Linked DNA regions of Homo sapiens: region 1 is linked to region 2. Evidence: promoter capture Hi-C in human tissues and cell types (Jung and others, 2019). All regions are on one chromosome and are shown on one strand. The core of a region is centred on a gene start or on the middle of the fragment in contact, and the rest is flanking DNA. Distances in the headings are between cores, read along the strand shown.

The links. The method cuts DNA at HindIII sites, captures the fragments that hold promoters and counts their contacts. A contact is called where the count stands out against the background at its distance.
Region 1: a contact is called between a fragment that was not itself captured here and the fragment with the promoter of STX4 in region 2, in 2 of the 25 tissues and cell types used here (lymphoblastoid cells and spleen).

The regions. Positions count from the first base shown.
Region 1 is chr16:31,848,091-31,854,455 of GRCh38, forward strand. No RefSeq gene overlaps it. Among named protein-coding and RNA genes, the nearest start is that of ZNF267, 23 kb to the right of the region's middle. The HindIII fragment of the contact is 6,664 bases long and covers 1-5,570 here.
Region 2 is chr16:31,031,773-31,038,598 of GRCh38, forward strand. STX4 (syntaxin 4) reads left to right here and starts at 1,786. Exons shown (of 11, transcript NM_004604.5): 1 at 1,786-2,063; 2 at 2,241-2,342; 3 at 2,454-2,553; 4 at 2,690-2,764; 5 at 3,198-3,268; 6 at 6,154-6,262; 7 at 6,342-6,418; 8 at 6,738-6,826. The coding sequence starts at 2,034. RefSeq lists enhancers at 1,110-1,621, 2,134-2,644. The HindIII fragment of the contact is 15,943 bases long and covers 1-2,659 here.

The DNA.
Region 1 (6,365 bases), core at 989-3,488, 820 kb after region 2:
AAACAGAGCATAATTAAAGAATTCTGAGTTAGTTCAGATTATTGTGCCTTAAAACATAAAACTTTCCATAAATGCATAAAAATAATTTATTGTTGTATTAATTTATTATGAGAAATAGTCAAGTAAAATTTCAATTCAAATATACTATAGAAAGTAAAAAGTTTTTTCTTCAAAGTTTCCCTTCTTGTTAAAGAATAAATCATAAGCATTAGAAATAACAGTTTCTTTTAAAGACTAACTTCCTTCAAGCCTCCTTACTTTGTGCTAATAACTCTTCGTTAAGCCCTATCCTATGTAGCTTTAGACATTCTCACAGGCACATAGTACATTCTATGTCTTCGTACCTTAACCAAGACATCTGTGCTGGACGTGCTCACTGGCATGTCCCAGCTCACAACCTATGCCCCTTCCTTAGTTGGGAACGTTATTAATTTTCTAAGTCCTTTTATAAGCAACTTCCTCTTTTCCTTTGTCTTTCCATTGCTTTTACCTATTTAGAAAAGTTTTAAGTTATTTGCCAATTGGGTTTTAGCTTAAATTGTGAGGTCTGGCTCCAGTCAATGAAGATAGGACACAGTAGCAGGGACAAGCTGCATAAAGGATAAAAATTGCTTCCCTCCTTTGTTCAGGTGTGCTCTTGCCATTGTTCCATCTGTGAGGAGCACCCTTTCTGCAGAAAGTAAAATTGCCTTGCTAAGAAAACTTTTTGTCTGAATGCTGATTTTTCCTTGCAGTACTGAGGAACAAGCATTCTGTTTCTAAATAAACATTTTACATGTAACAAAATGGTGGCCCATACATTCTCCTCTGGGGTCGGTCTCTAGTCCTCTCTCATGAGGAGGGGCCCCACTGCCTCATTGCGGTGGCCTTATGGGTAAGGAATCAAAACCCACCCAGCATGACAAATAAACCCAGACTCTCAGCAGTGCAGAAAGAAACCAGTTGGCAACCTGGAGTAAAGGATCCTTACATACCATGTAGACTGGGCGACCTTGTGCATGAGCCAAACAACGAAAACACTGGAGGAGCAGTTAAAGTATTTCCTTGGTGGTCAGAACTAAGGAAAAAAAGCCGTGGGGTGGTAAAGCATTCCTTGGTTAAAGCACACCAAGGTAAAAGAAATTGCAGGGGCGGTAAAGCATGCCTTAGTCAAGACAGAGGAAAGAAAAGCTGCGGGGCTGGGGGGCGGTGAAAAAATCCTTAGTTGGGTTGTCTTAGAGGTTAAAAAAAGGGGTGAAAAATCCCCATTGGGGGAGATTAAAGATCACACAAACCTCCGGTAGTAAACAAATATATTCAAAACTTCCCTTTCCCTTCTTCTTGGGGGAAGAAAAACGCTAAGCTCCACACCCACTGGCTGCTCCCTAGGGGAAGGGGAAAGAGAGGGGAAAATAGCAGCATGGGCAGCTGGCAGAGGCAGGGAAAGACCAGCAGACAGAGAAAGAGAAGGGCAGATACAAAAAGCAAAAATCTGTTGGCAAGTTCCAAAGTTTTCTAAAAGAGGTAAAAGGAAAAAGTCAGGGAATTCAGGAATGCAAAAAGAAAGAAGGCAAGGTCAGTACTTTAAAGGAGAAGGTAAAAATAAATGGTGTAAGGGCTGTGGATATAAAAGTAAGGAGGAAAAACAAGGGGACCCTCTGGCCCAGGGTTAATAACTCATGCAACTTATGGCAGGCATCTGCTGAGCCTCTAGGCTGACAGTGGCCCAGGGCACGGACTGCAGCCATGAAGATCCCACCCAACAAGTAAGTGTGAGAGAAAGAGGAAACAGGAGGTGACAGAGAGAAGGAGAAAACGCAAATGAAGGAGAGAGATAGAAGGAAAAAATAAGTAAAAAAAAAAAAAGACTGGAAAAAACAAAGATAAAAAAACACAAAAAATAAAACTAGGGAAAAAATAGTGTAAAAAAAGTCTAAAAGTTTATCTAAAAGTTAAGGCATGTCAAAAATTGTAAAAGTCCTAAAAAATTTTATAAAAGGGAATTTATGCAAAAAATTATATAATTTAAAAATAATTAAGCCTCCTAAATGTAAAACTATTAAAGAAGCAACTTGTGTGCAAGGTATATAAGGAAAGTAAAATATACTTTTAGAAAAAAATTATAAGAAAACATAAGAATGTGAATTTTTACCTACATTAACATTTTTTAAATAGATGCTAAAGAAAATTCAGAAGGAAAATAAATATTGCTAAACCAAAATTAAAAAAATGTTATCCAAACCCCTTATTAAAAAAATCTTGTTCCAACTGCATCAAAAAACCCACTGGGGCTCTCCAGCACAGGTTTAATACCAACAAGTTTCCACCTCCAGCGGCTCCTACAGAGGCTGCAGTGAGAGCCTGCGAGGGCGTGGGGGGGACAAACACTACAGGTGCAAGGGAGGGGGCCAAACAACTGTCAGACAGCACAGCCCAGCCCAGCCCAAGGCCAGGGGCTAGACAGTGGGGTCTCTGGCAGGAGCAAGGTCTGGGGGCAGTGCGGTAAGTCACAAGGACCCTCATCCCCACAAGGCCGCAATGCATGGTAGCAGTAAAGGCCGCAGGGAAGCCGGGACCTTAAGAGGGGCCAGGGCCACAGCATCCCCTAGGCTACATTGAACGGGAATGAAGCGGGAGGCGTCACCGTGGGGCTTCGGGCCCCAGGATATGCAAAGTTCTAACTTTCTGAGGGACCCCAAATTTTCCCTCAAAAACAACATAAGTAAAAATTAAAAAAGGAAATTTAAGTCAAAAACTACCTATAGGTTGCCTTACTTACATTCCACGGCTGATATCCGCACATTTAAAACAACAACAAAAAAATCAGTTTCTCAAAAATTACATACTTATTTTCCACTTTCCTTTTCCTCAAAACTAAAAGTCTTCTAGCACAGGTGCCACTCTTAAAATTTCCAGTAAACCAGCACCAGCCTGGAAACCATGTCCTTATCAAAGGATAAAAAGAAGAAAAACTCAAGCCAGCCTAAGAAAAACCCTACCTTGTGCTGCTAACCCACCAAGACTGCGGTTCCCACAGCAGAAGAGAATGAACACCACATACCCGAGTCAAAAAAGCGTCATCACCGTCAAAGTCATAGGCCGTTGTTCCAGGGTTAAGCCCTACCAAGTTAAAGCTATAAAAACGTAATCTATCTATCTTTTTTCTTTTCTTCCCTTTAACTACTTCCTATCTTATTAATATAACTAAATCTAACTCACCTCAAGTTACTACTTTTAATGCCTGTTTAGTTATCACTCCTCCCAGACACAAAAACAAGACCAAAGTCTCTACAGTAAAAATAAAAAACCTAAAGCAAACAATAACAATTAAAACAGGATATCAAAATGTAAATGGCTGGTTAAAATAAATTAAATATTTCATCTGCATCTAAATAAAAGTGACCGTTAAACACGTGTGCATGGTAGGCTAGAGGCCCAGGTTGTCCCCTTTCCACTCAAATAGTCCTCTAATCAACAAAACATGGACTACATGGTAGCTCCTTTTCAAAATCCTACAGCCTGAGATAATAAACTGTGTCAAACGCTCTCGCTACTATTTCCTAAAATGCAGTACCCTGCGGGTCAGCCCCCGAGGGCCATCTAGCCTCCATCTTCCAAGACCAATTTTACCTGGTGTCTCCAACAACAAGGGAAAAATTTAGTGTTCCTTGAAAACTTAATGCAGTGAAGTCAGGCACTTCCAAGAGCTGACCCATCAATCCCCCCTTATTCATCACCAAACAGGTATGTAATAATATTGTAGAAGACCTTTACTGAACACTCTGCCAAATAATTAAAGCAATATTTGTGCTCTAGTTCAATTGGCTATCCCTTTTACCGTGGCATTTCACCAACCAGAAAAACTTTTTCTTTTAAAAACTCAAGCAAAACAGCTAAACCAAAACATGTTAAAAAATTTTAAAGAAAAAAAGCTATAAAATCAAAAGGAAGGAATTGCAGAAAGTAAAAAGTTTCCTCTTCAAAGTTTCCATTCTTGTTACAGGATAAATAAGTGTTAGAAATAATAGTTTCTTTTAAAGACTAATTTCTTTCAAGCCTCCTTACTTTGTGCTAATAACTCTTTGTTTAAGCCCTATCCTATGTAGCTGTTAAACATGCTCACAGGCACATAGTACATTCTATGTCCTTGTGCCTTAACGGAAATACCTGTCCTGGATGTGCTCACAGGCATGTCCCAGCTCACAGCCTGTCACTTCCTTATTTAGGAATGTTATTACTTTTCTAAGTCCTTTCATAAACAACTTCCTCTTTTCATTTATCTTTCCATTGCTTTTACCTGTTTAAAAAATTTTAAGTTATTAGCCAATCAGGTTTTAATTTAAATTATGAAGTCTGTCTCCAGCCAATAAAAACAGGACACAAGAGCAGGGACAAGCTACATAAAAAATAAAAATTGCTTCCCTCCCTTGTTCAAATGTGCTCTTGCCATTGTTCCATCTGCAAGGAGCACCCTTTCTGCAGAAAGTAAAATTTCCTTGCTAAAAAAACCTTTTTGTCTAAATGCTAATTTTTCCTTACATGACCGAAAAACAAGCATTCTGTTTCTAAATAAACGTCTTACCTATAACATATACCATTACAAAATTACAAATATCCTTTCGAACATCTGTAAATTTATGTGCTCATGATATTAAAATTTATATTTTTATCTGAAAATAGTTATAATTCAGTGAGACACAAGAACAAAATTATGAGAGAGTTATCTACATCATTGAGAAAATCCTCCTGCCACTACCAACGTAAGTCGTGATCACTCACTTTTACTAAAGCTGAGAAACATCCATTTGCCCAGCGGAGTCCTGGAGTGAGTCTGTGTGTGTGGATGGTGGTCCCTGAGACTTGGTTATAAAGAAGGGATACTGTCAGCTCGTCTCCCTCCAGGCCCATAACTGTCATGTCACCTGTAGAAGCAGGACAGCCCTGGCCTCGAGATTATTGGAAAGGGGAGCAACAAAAGGAAAAACTGAACACATTTAATTCCTGGAAAAGATCAGTGTAGGACAGATGGGTTTCAAACTTTAACGTGTGCAAGCTTGTTTTCTTAGGTAATTTTGCCCAGGAGGGTTGTCTGGTCTCAGTTATTGCCAATAAAGTAGAAGCAATAACTATAGTTTCAAACTTTGTTTAATTTCTGTGTTGCTTTACCAAACATCCTTGCTAACTGAAGAAATTTCTGGGGGCCTTCACACATGGTCCCCAGTTGTCCCTACGTTTCAATATTACAGGTAGTCTATGTAAAACTTTTTTGGGAATGAAGAAAATGCCCCCTGCACCAGGCTTACATAGCGCTTACAGTGAAGTTGTTTCTACTTACAGGGATGTTTAACTACACAGTCAGCATGAGAGCATGTGGAATAAAATGATTAACACATTCTTAGCAACTGACAACTTTTATTTGCTTCTGAGACACCACCAACCACACCTATGTTATAACTAGTGCTAACTTTAACCTTGATCATGATTGCCACATTTGGAGTTACACTTTCTTAATCAAACATCATCTGATACTGAAGTGGTGACTTCTCATGCACTTAATCTATAGATTTTCCCCCAAGGCACCAGTTCTGAATATGTTTGAGTTCATGCTGGTGTACCTCTCATGTGCCATATCTGAGGCTCTAACAAATAAACTCTCCAGGCCGGGCACGGTGGCTCATGCCTGCAATCCCAGCCCTTTGGGAGGCCAAGGCAGGCGGATCACTTCAGGTCAGGAGTTTGAGACCAGCTGGCCAATACGGTGAAACCCCGTCTCTACTAAAAACACGGAAATTAGCCAGGCATCATGGCAGGCACCTGGAATCCCAGCTATTCAGGAAGCTGAGGCAGAAGAATCACTCAAACCCAGGAGGCAGAGGTTGCAGTGAGCTGAGATCGGGCCACTGCACTCTAGGCTGGGCAACAGAGCGAGATTCTGTCTCAAAAATTAAAATAAAATAAAATACAAAATAAACTTTCCATTCAGCTGCAGTCAGGACCACTTGATCCCCAGACTTCTACTGTCTTCAGTGACAATTCTCCCTGTCATCTTAAACCCAGCTGCCATCACTATGACGTTGGTGCTCAATCCAGTCAGTGTCCTTAGGTCTTGATTTATTTTCCTTCTCTGAAGCTTTTCAATTACTTCTTTATAAATTATTTTGTCTGATGCTCACAGAAAAAGCCTGCCTAATAAGAACCCTATACCCACAAAAACTAGCTATTAAAAATGAAGGTTAAATAAAAACATTTTATGTAAATAAAAACTGATACAATTTGTTGCTAGCCAACTGACCTTATGAAAAAATGGCAAAAGAAGTTTTTCAGGCTGAAAGCAAGTAAATCCAGACAATAATTTGAATGCATAAGAAAGACAAAGCACACACTAG
Region 2 (6,826 bases), core at 536-3,035:
TCAGGTGATCTGCCTGCCTCAGCCTCCCAAAGTGCTGGGATTACAGGCATGAGCCACCACACCCTGCCTGAGCTGGGTTTTAACAGGAAGAGGAGAAGAGCCAAAACTCCTCACATAGAATCACACAGCACTTGACAGTTTCCAACCTCATCATCACTGAAGTTTAGAGCAGCCGATACCCATAAAGATGATCTCCCCATCCCCCTACAGTTACCCACTGTGCAGAGGGAGATCCACACTTAGAGACAGGAAGCGATTTCCAGAAGTCCATAGCAACTCAGTCCCAGGAATCTAGGTTTCCTGACCAGGGCATAGCAGAAAGGGTCCATTCCTTTCCTTGCTTGTACCTTCACAGAAGCTTCCTGGACAGAGCCCTGGGGTCCAGGAGACCTGTTATTCATTCCCGGCTATGCTGAGACTTGCTGAGTGACCTTGGGGACTCCTTCTAGAGAATATAAGTTCCACGAGTGCAGGAATTTTTGTCTATTAGTCCTTGATGTATCTCCAGCCCTAGAACAGTGTTTGGCCCATACTATGTGCCCAAAAAATATCCATTAAATGACTGAATGTTGCTGTGCATGGTGGTGCATGCCTGTAATCCCAGCACTTTGGGAAGCTGAGGCAGAAGGATTGCTTAAGCCCAGGAGTTAGAGACCAGCTTGGACAACATAGTGAGACCGCATCTCGTAAAAATTTTTAAAAATAAAAAATGAGTGAATATCTAGATAGCCAGGATTAGAGAAGTGTCACAGTCAGAAAGCCTGAAGCCTAAAGAAGACCAAGGAACCAGGGGCTTTATCCTCAGATACATGAAAGCCTGAAATTCTGTCCACAAGTATTTATAGAGGGCCCGTAATGTTCTTGGTACTGGGCTAGGAACTCCCCAGATTCAGTTAAGAACAAAGTCATTACCTGGCCTCAGATGCAAGGCAGGGGCTGGGGGGTGTGAGTGGCAGGGAGGCAGCGTGATCAATACAAACACTTTTCTTAGCCTGAGCTGCCCTGACATGGTCTGACGGCTCACAAGGTGGTGAGTGCAGCCGGGCTGCAGTGTTCAAGGAGGGCGCCGGCTGGCCGCCCACCTGTCAGAGGCTGCGCCAGAAGGATGCGGAAGAAGAGATTTCTGCCTTGGCTGAGGTCACTTCCCACCCCCAGATTCCCTGCCCACACAACCCTGCAATTTTCTGACGCTGACGACTCGGATCCTATTATTTCCCGATTTTCAAGGTCCCATGATGCTGACAGCCCCAAATGCTAAGTCGTCAGTCCGCCCACGCCCTGGACCCGAAAGCAATAAAGGCGAGGTCAGCAAGGGTCCTACCACCCACTGCCTCGAAAGGCCTCTGGGGGTGGTCGGCGCGCCCCTCCCCACCTCGCGGGGGCCGTGTGGGCGTCGCTCGGTCGTTGGGGTGCCGGGGACGTCGTGATGAGAACGGCGTCCCAGAGACGGCGGTGACAGAGCCGGGACACGTGACAGTCACAGGGTCACATTCTGCGGTCCACGAGTTTGGGACCGGGCTGGTCACGTGACGCGGTGGGGGCACCATGGGGTGATGTGAGATGCGGGTGTCTCGGATTACGTACAAATGACGTATTCCTACCCCTTTTGGCAACCAGATTTCCGTTGGAAGATGCAACGGTTCCGGTGACGGTAGCAAGTTCTCGCGTCCAGGCATCTCCGCTTCCGCTCGGGGCGCAACAACTTCCGACTCCACCTTCCCAGCCTCGGGCAAGGAAGAGACGCGACCATGTGCGCATGCCCCGAATTTATCACGGAGGGGCGGGGCTGAGGCTGCGGGAGCTGGAGCGGGGAAGAAAAGGGAATTCCAACCTGTGGAACCTTGGGGGGTCCCCGGGGTCGGCGCCTTCCCATTGACTGTGGGCGGTGCAAGGGACGGAGCCTCTGGCGGCTCGTGGGGGTGTTGGGGTCCGCAGGGGGAGGGAGGGGAGTGTCAGAGTGTGAGCGGGGTACGGGAATTCCAAATTTGAGGGCCTCCCGGCTCTGGCGCCGGGGAGGGAGAGCTCAGGCCGCCATGCGGGACAGGACCCACGAGCTGAGACAGGTGAGACGCCAGGGCAGCGGGGATGGGGACGGGCGGACGAACTGGAACGCAGGACTTCTGGTCTTCGGGATAGGGAGGGGTGGCTGATGGCCAGGAAGGAAAGTCCCGGAAGCCTGTGGGTCCTGCGGGGTAAGAGCCGCAGCGAAACGGTGGTGCCAATGACTCCGGGCCTGGCAGGGGGATGACAGCTCGGACGAAGAGGACAAGGAGCGGGTCGCGCTGGTGGTGCACCCGGGCACGGCACGGCTGGGGAGCCCGGACGAGGAGTTCTTCCACAAGGTAAGGGGCTGGGGTCTCCGCCTGGATTCGCGAGGGTGTAGGAGGACCCGAGGAGTAGCGTGGTCTGGAGTACCCCATATCTCTTTCAGCCCTCTCGGTCACCCTCCCCAGGTCCGGACAATTCGGCAGACTATTGTCAAACTGGGGAATAAAGTCCAGGAGTTGGAGAAACAGCAGGTCACCATCCTGGCCACGCCCCTTCCCGAGGAGAGTGAGTGAAACCCCGGCTGCAGGGCGCATGCTCCGCCCCAGGGATTGTGGGGGTTGTAGTTCCACGCAGGTGGTGGCCAGAGTGGTTTGTTGAGGTGGGGGCTGCTGTTTGGGAGTCTTGGCCTTCTCTTATTCAGGCATGAAGCAGGAGCTGCAGAACCTGCGCGATGAGATCAAACAGCTGGGGAGGGAGATCCGCCTGCAGCTGAAGGGTGAGCTCCTGGGACCTCAGACAGATCCTTCCCTCTGATCCTGCCCTGTTGTTGGTATATCTGGGGAGTGTGTGGCCCAGAGAAGCCAGTGATATATCCAGGTCACACAGCAGGCCTGGGTCTAGCATCTGTCTCCTGGCCTCCAGGCCATTGTACTCTCCACAGCACAAGTCCGCCTCTCAGGTTCTTTTATTTACAATGAAACCATTTACTTACACAGTTATCGCTGCCCACTGGGCATTCTTTGGGCAGGGAGATGGAGTTTTGTTAGGTGGCCTCTGCATACCTATGGGAACTCAGTGATGTAATGCAAAGAAAAATAAACTTACTTTCTCCTCTTAGAGGCTCAGCCTTAGTCATTTTATGATAAATTATATTTCCCTAAAAATCCTATGGAGACAAGTACCCCCAATACCCCTGTGTCTTCCCACAGCCATAGAGCCCCAGAAGGAGGAAGCTGATGAGAACTATAACTCCGTCAACACAAGAATGAGAAAAACCCAGGTGGGTTTTTTTTCTCAGAAATGAGGACATTTCAGCAAATGTTTCATGAAGTATTAGATGACAGGTGTATGAAGGAAGGGCCTGCAGAGATCATGGAGTCCAATTGGATGACTTTTCCAAATGGGGAAACTGAGCTCAGAGAGAGAAAGAACTTGCTCAAGGTCAGGAAGCCAGGTCTCCTGATGCTCAGTCCGGTTATAACACCCTGCTTTATTTTCTTCCATTCAATAGGAAGTTACTGTGACCCCAGACAAGACCTAGTCTTGGCTGTGGGACACATGTTTTCTTTTCTTTTTTTGCCTCAGCCTCCTGAATAGCTGGGATTACAGGCGGACACCCCCATGCCCAGCTAATTTTTGTAGTTTTAGTAGAGACTGGGCTTCACCATGTTGGCCAGGCTGGTTTCGAACTCCTGACCTCAGGTGACCCTCCTGCCTCGGCCTCCCAAAGTGCTGAATTACAGGCGTGAGCCACCATGCCCAGCTGGGACACATGTTTTCTGGGAGTCAAGATGAGGAGTTAGGGTTCAATAGGGGATAAAGACATTACTCACGTGGGACCTGGTGGCTAACGGCGCTGCCCAGGGAAGGAGAGTGAGAAGTCATAAATGACTGGCAGGTTTCCTATCTATGTGACAGGGACATCCTTAGTCCCACAGGTGGAATTCAAGAAGTCAGGAAGAGGAACTTCCTTGGGGCAACACTGAAGAGGAACTCCCCTGGTGTGATATCTTATTTTTTTAATTATTATTATTTTTTTGAGATGGAGTCTCACTCTGTCCCTCAGGCTGGAGTACAGTGGCACAATCTTGGCTCACTGCAACCTCCACCTCCTTCAAGCGATTCTCCTGCCTCAGCCTCACGAGTAGCTGGGATTACAGGTGTGCACCACCACACCTGGCTAATTTTTTATATTTTTGGTAGAAATGAGGTTTCACCTTGTTGGCCAGGCTGGTCTCGAACTCCTGATCTCAACTGATCCACCTGCTTTGGCCTCGCAAAGTGCTATGATTATAGGCATGAGCCACCGCGCGCGGCCCCTGGGGTGATATCTTAGTAAGGAGATTTGCAGTGATCTGACTGGCCCTCTCTGGGTCCCCAGTGAGGAGGATACCAGGAGGTCAGGGTTGGAGTAGTTGGGCCCAGGGCTCAGCAGGGACCCCAGATTGAAGATGGAGCAGCTTGGGCATCTTGGAAGGGTGAAGCTGGAACCAGGAAAGCAGATGTATCTCTGGAAAAGGAACTCCAAGGAATGAGCATATTTAAGGCCTCAGAAGAAGGGGCAAGGCAGAGCAGATGCCCCAGAACCAGTGTTTCTGGGGAAGCCTGTGGTGGTGATTGGCATGAGTGGTTGAGGGTCCATGTGGGCCTGTTGCACCTGTTTCGCCCAGGCAACATGTTCATCTCTAGGCGTAGGAGCTGTGGTGTAGGCAGCGAGGTTGGCATTCAGCAAGCATTCAGCAGTTACATATTGGGTGCCTACTGTGTGCCAGACCTTTTTGGAACTGTTTAGGATACAGCAGTGAACCAGTGATCCCTGTCCTCATGGAACTTCCCTTCTGGTGTAGACAATCACCATAATAAATAAGTGAATTATTTAGAACATAATAAGCATTAAGGAAAAAAGAGCAGGGGAAGAGGGACTAAGCATGCTGGAGGAGGTAGAGTTGCAGTTGAAAGCAGGTGGAGGAAGCTTCATTCAGAAGGTAACATCTGAACAAGAGACTTAAAGGTGTTTGCTGGGAATGAGCATTCTAGGTAGAAGGAAAAGTGAATGCAAAGGCTTAAGCTGAGAGTGTGCTTTGTCTAGGGAGGGGTAAGGAGACCAGTGTGGATGGGCAGAGGAAGGGAACAGTAAGAGGAAGTAAGATCAGAGAGGTCATGGGAGAAGGAGAGATCATAGAGGGCTAGCCAGGCACCGTGGCTCACGCCTGTAATCCCAGCACTTTGGAGGCTGAGGTGGGAGGATTGGTTGAGCCCAGGAGTTTGAGACCAGCCTGGGCAATATAGTGAGACCCCCCCCCCTTTTTTTTTTTTCCTTTGAGACAGGGTCTCACTCTGTTGCCCAGGCTGGAGTACAGTGGTGCCATCTCTGCTCACTGCAACCTCCGCCTCCTGGGTTCAAGCCATTCTCTTGCTTCAGCCTCCCAAGTAGCTGGGACTACAGGCGCCCACCACTGCACCAAGCTAATTTCTGTACTTTTAGTAGAGATGGGGTTTCACCACGTTGGCCAGGCTGGTCTTGACCTCCTGACCTCAGGTGATCCACCTGCCTCAGCCTCCCAAAGTGCTGGGATCACAGGCATGAGCCACCGTGCCCGGCCAACCCTGTCTCTATTAAAAATAAAAATAGGCCAGGTGCAGTGGCTCACGCCTGTAATGGAGGCCGAGGCAGGTGGATCACAAGGTCAAGAGATCAAGACCATCCTGGCCAACATGGTGAAACCCCATCTCTACTAAAAATACAAAAATTAGCCGTGCGTGGTGGCGCGTGCCTGTAGTCCCAGCTACTCGGGAGGCTGAGGCAAGAGAATTGCTTGAACCCGGGAGGCCAAGGTTGCAGTGAGCCGAGATTGTGCCACTGCACTCCAGCCTGGGCAACAAGAGTGAAACTCTGTCTCAAAAAACAAATAATAAATAAATAAATAAATAAATAAATAAATAAATAAATAAAAAAGATCATGGAGGACCACATAGGCCTGATAAGGGCTTTGGCTTTTAGTCTAAGAGAAATGGGGGAGCCTGTCAAGGTCATCACAAGGTGGTTAAGGTGGCAGATCCCGCATAAGAGCTCATGCTATTTGCTCACTGTACTATGGGGTTGCCGAGGCACCGACCGGGCAGGGATCCTCCCAGGGGCACTCAGCCTATATTCTTCATCTTTAGCATGGGGTCCTGTCCCAGCAATTCGTGGAGCTCATCAACAAGTGCAATTCAATGCAGTCCGAATACCGGGAGAAGAACGTGGAGCGGATTCGGAGGCAGCTGAAGATCAGTGAGTTGTGCATGCCCAGCCTGGCCCGCAGGGGCAGGTAATCCCAACCCAACCCTGAGCCTGGCCTTTTCCTTCACAGCCAATGCTGGGATGGTGTCTGATGAGGAGTTGGAGCAGATGCTGGACAGTGGGCAAAGCGAGGTGTTTGTGTCCAATGTGAGTGGCCACAGCCAGCCCCTCTCTGCTGTGCCTCCCATCCCCTCTGAGTCCTGTCCGTTTCTCGACCTCCTGGGCTCAGGTGATCCTCCTGCCTCAGCCTCCCGAGTAGCTGGGACTATAGGTGCAAGCCACTGCACCCCGCTTGCTGTGGCCCTTTCTGATTAAGGGCACCCTGAGGCCTCTAAGGGAATTAATTAGCCTGCCTGGAGTCACCCATCAGATTCCAGGCTGAGGGCTCCCCAGAAGCTCAACAGGAGTTTCTGACCTGCTGTCGGTCTCCCTGTGAACAGTTGCCCCACTCCTGTCCACCCCCCAGATCCTGAAGGACACGCAGGTGACTCGACAGGCCTTAAATGAGATCTCGGCCCGGCACAGTGAGATCCAGCAGCTTGAACGCAGTATTCG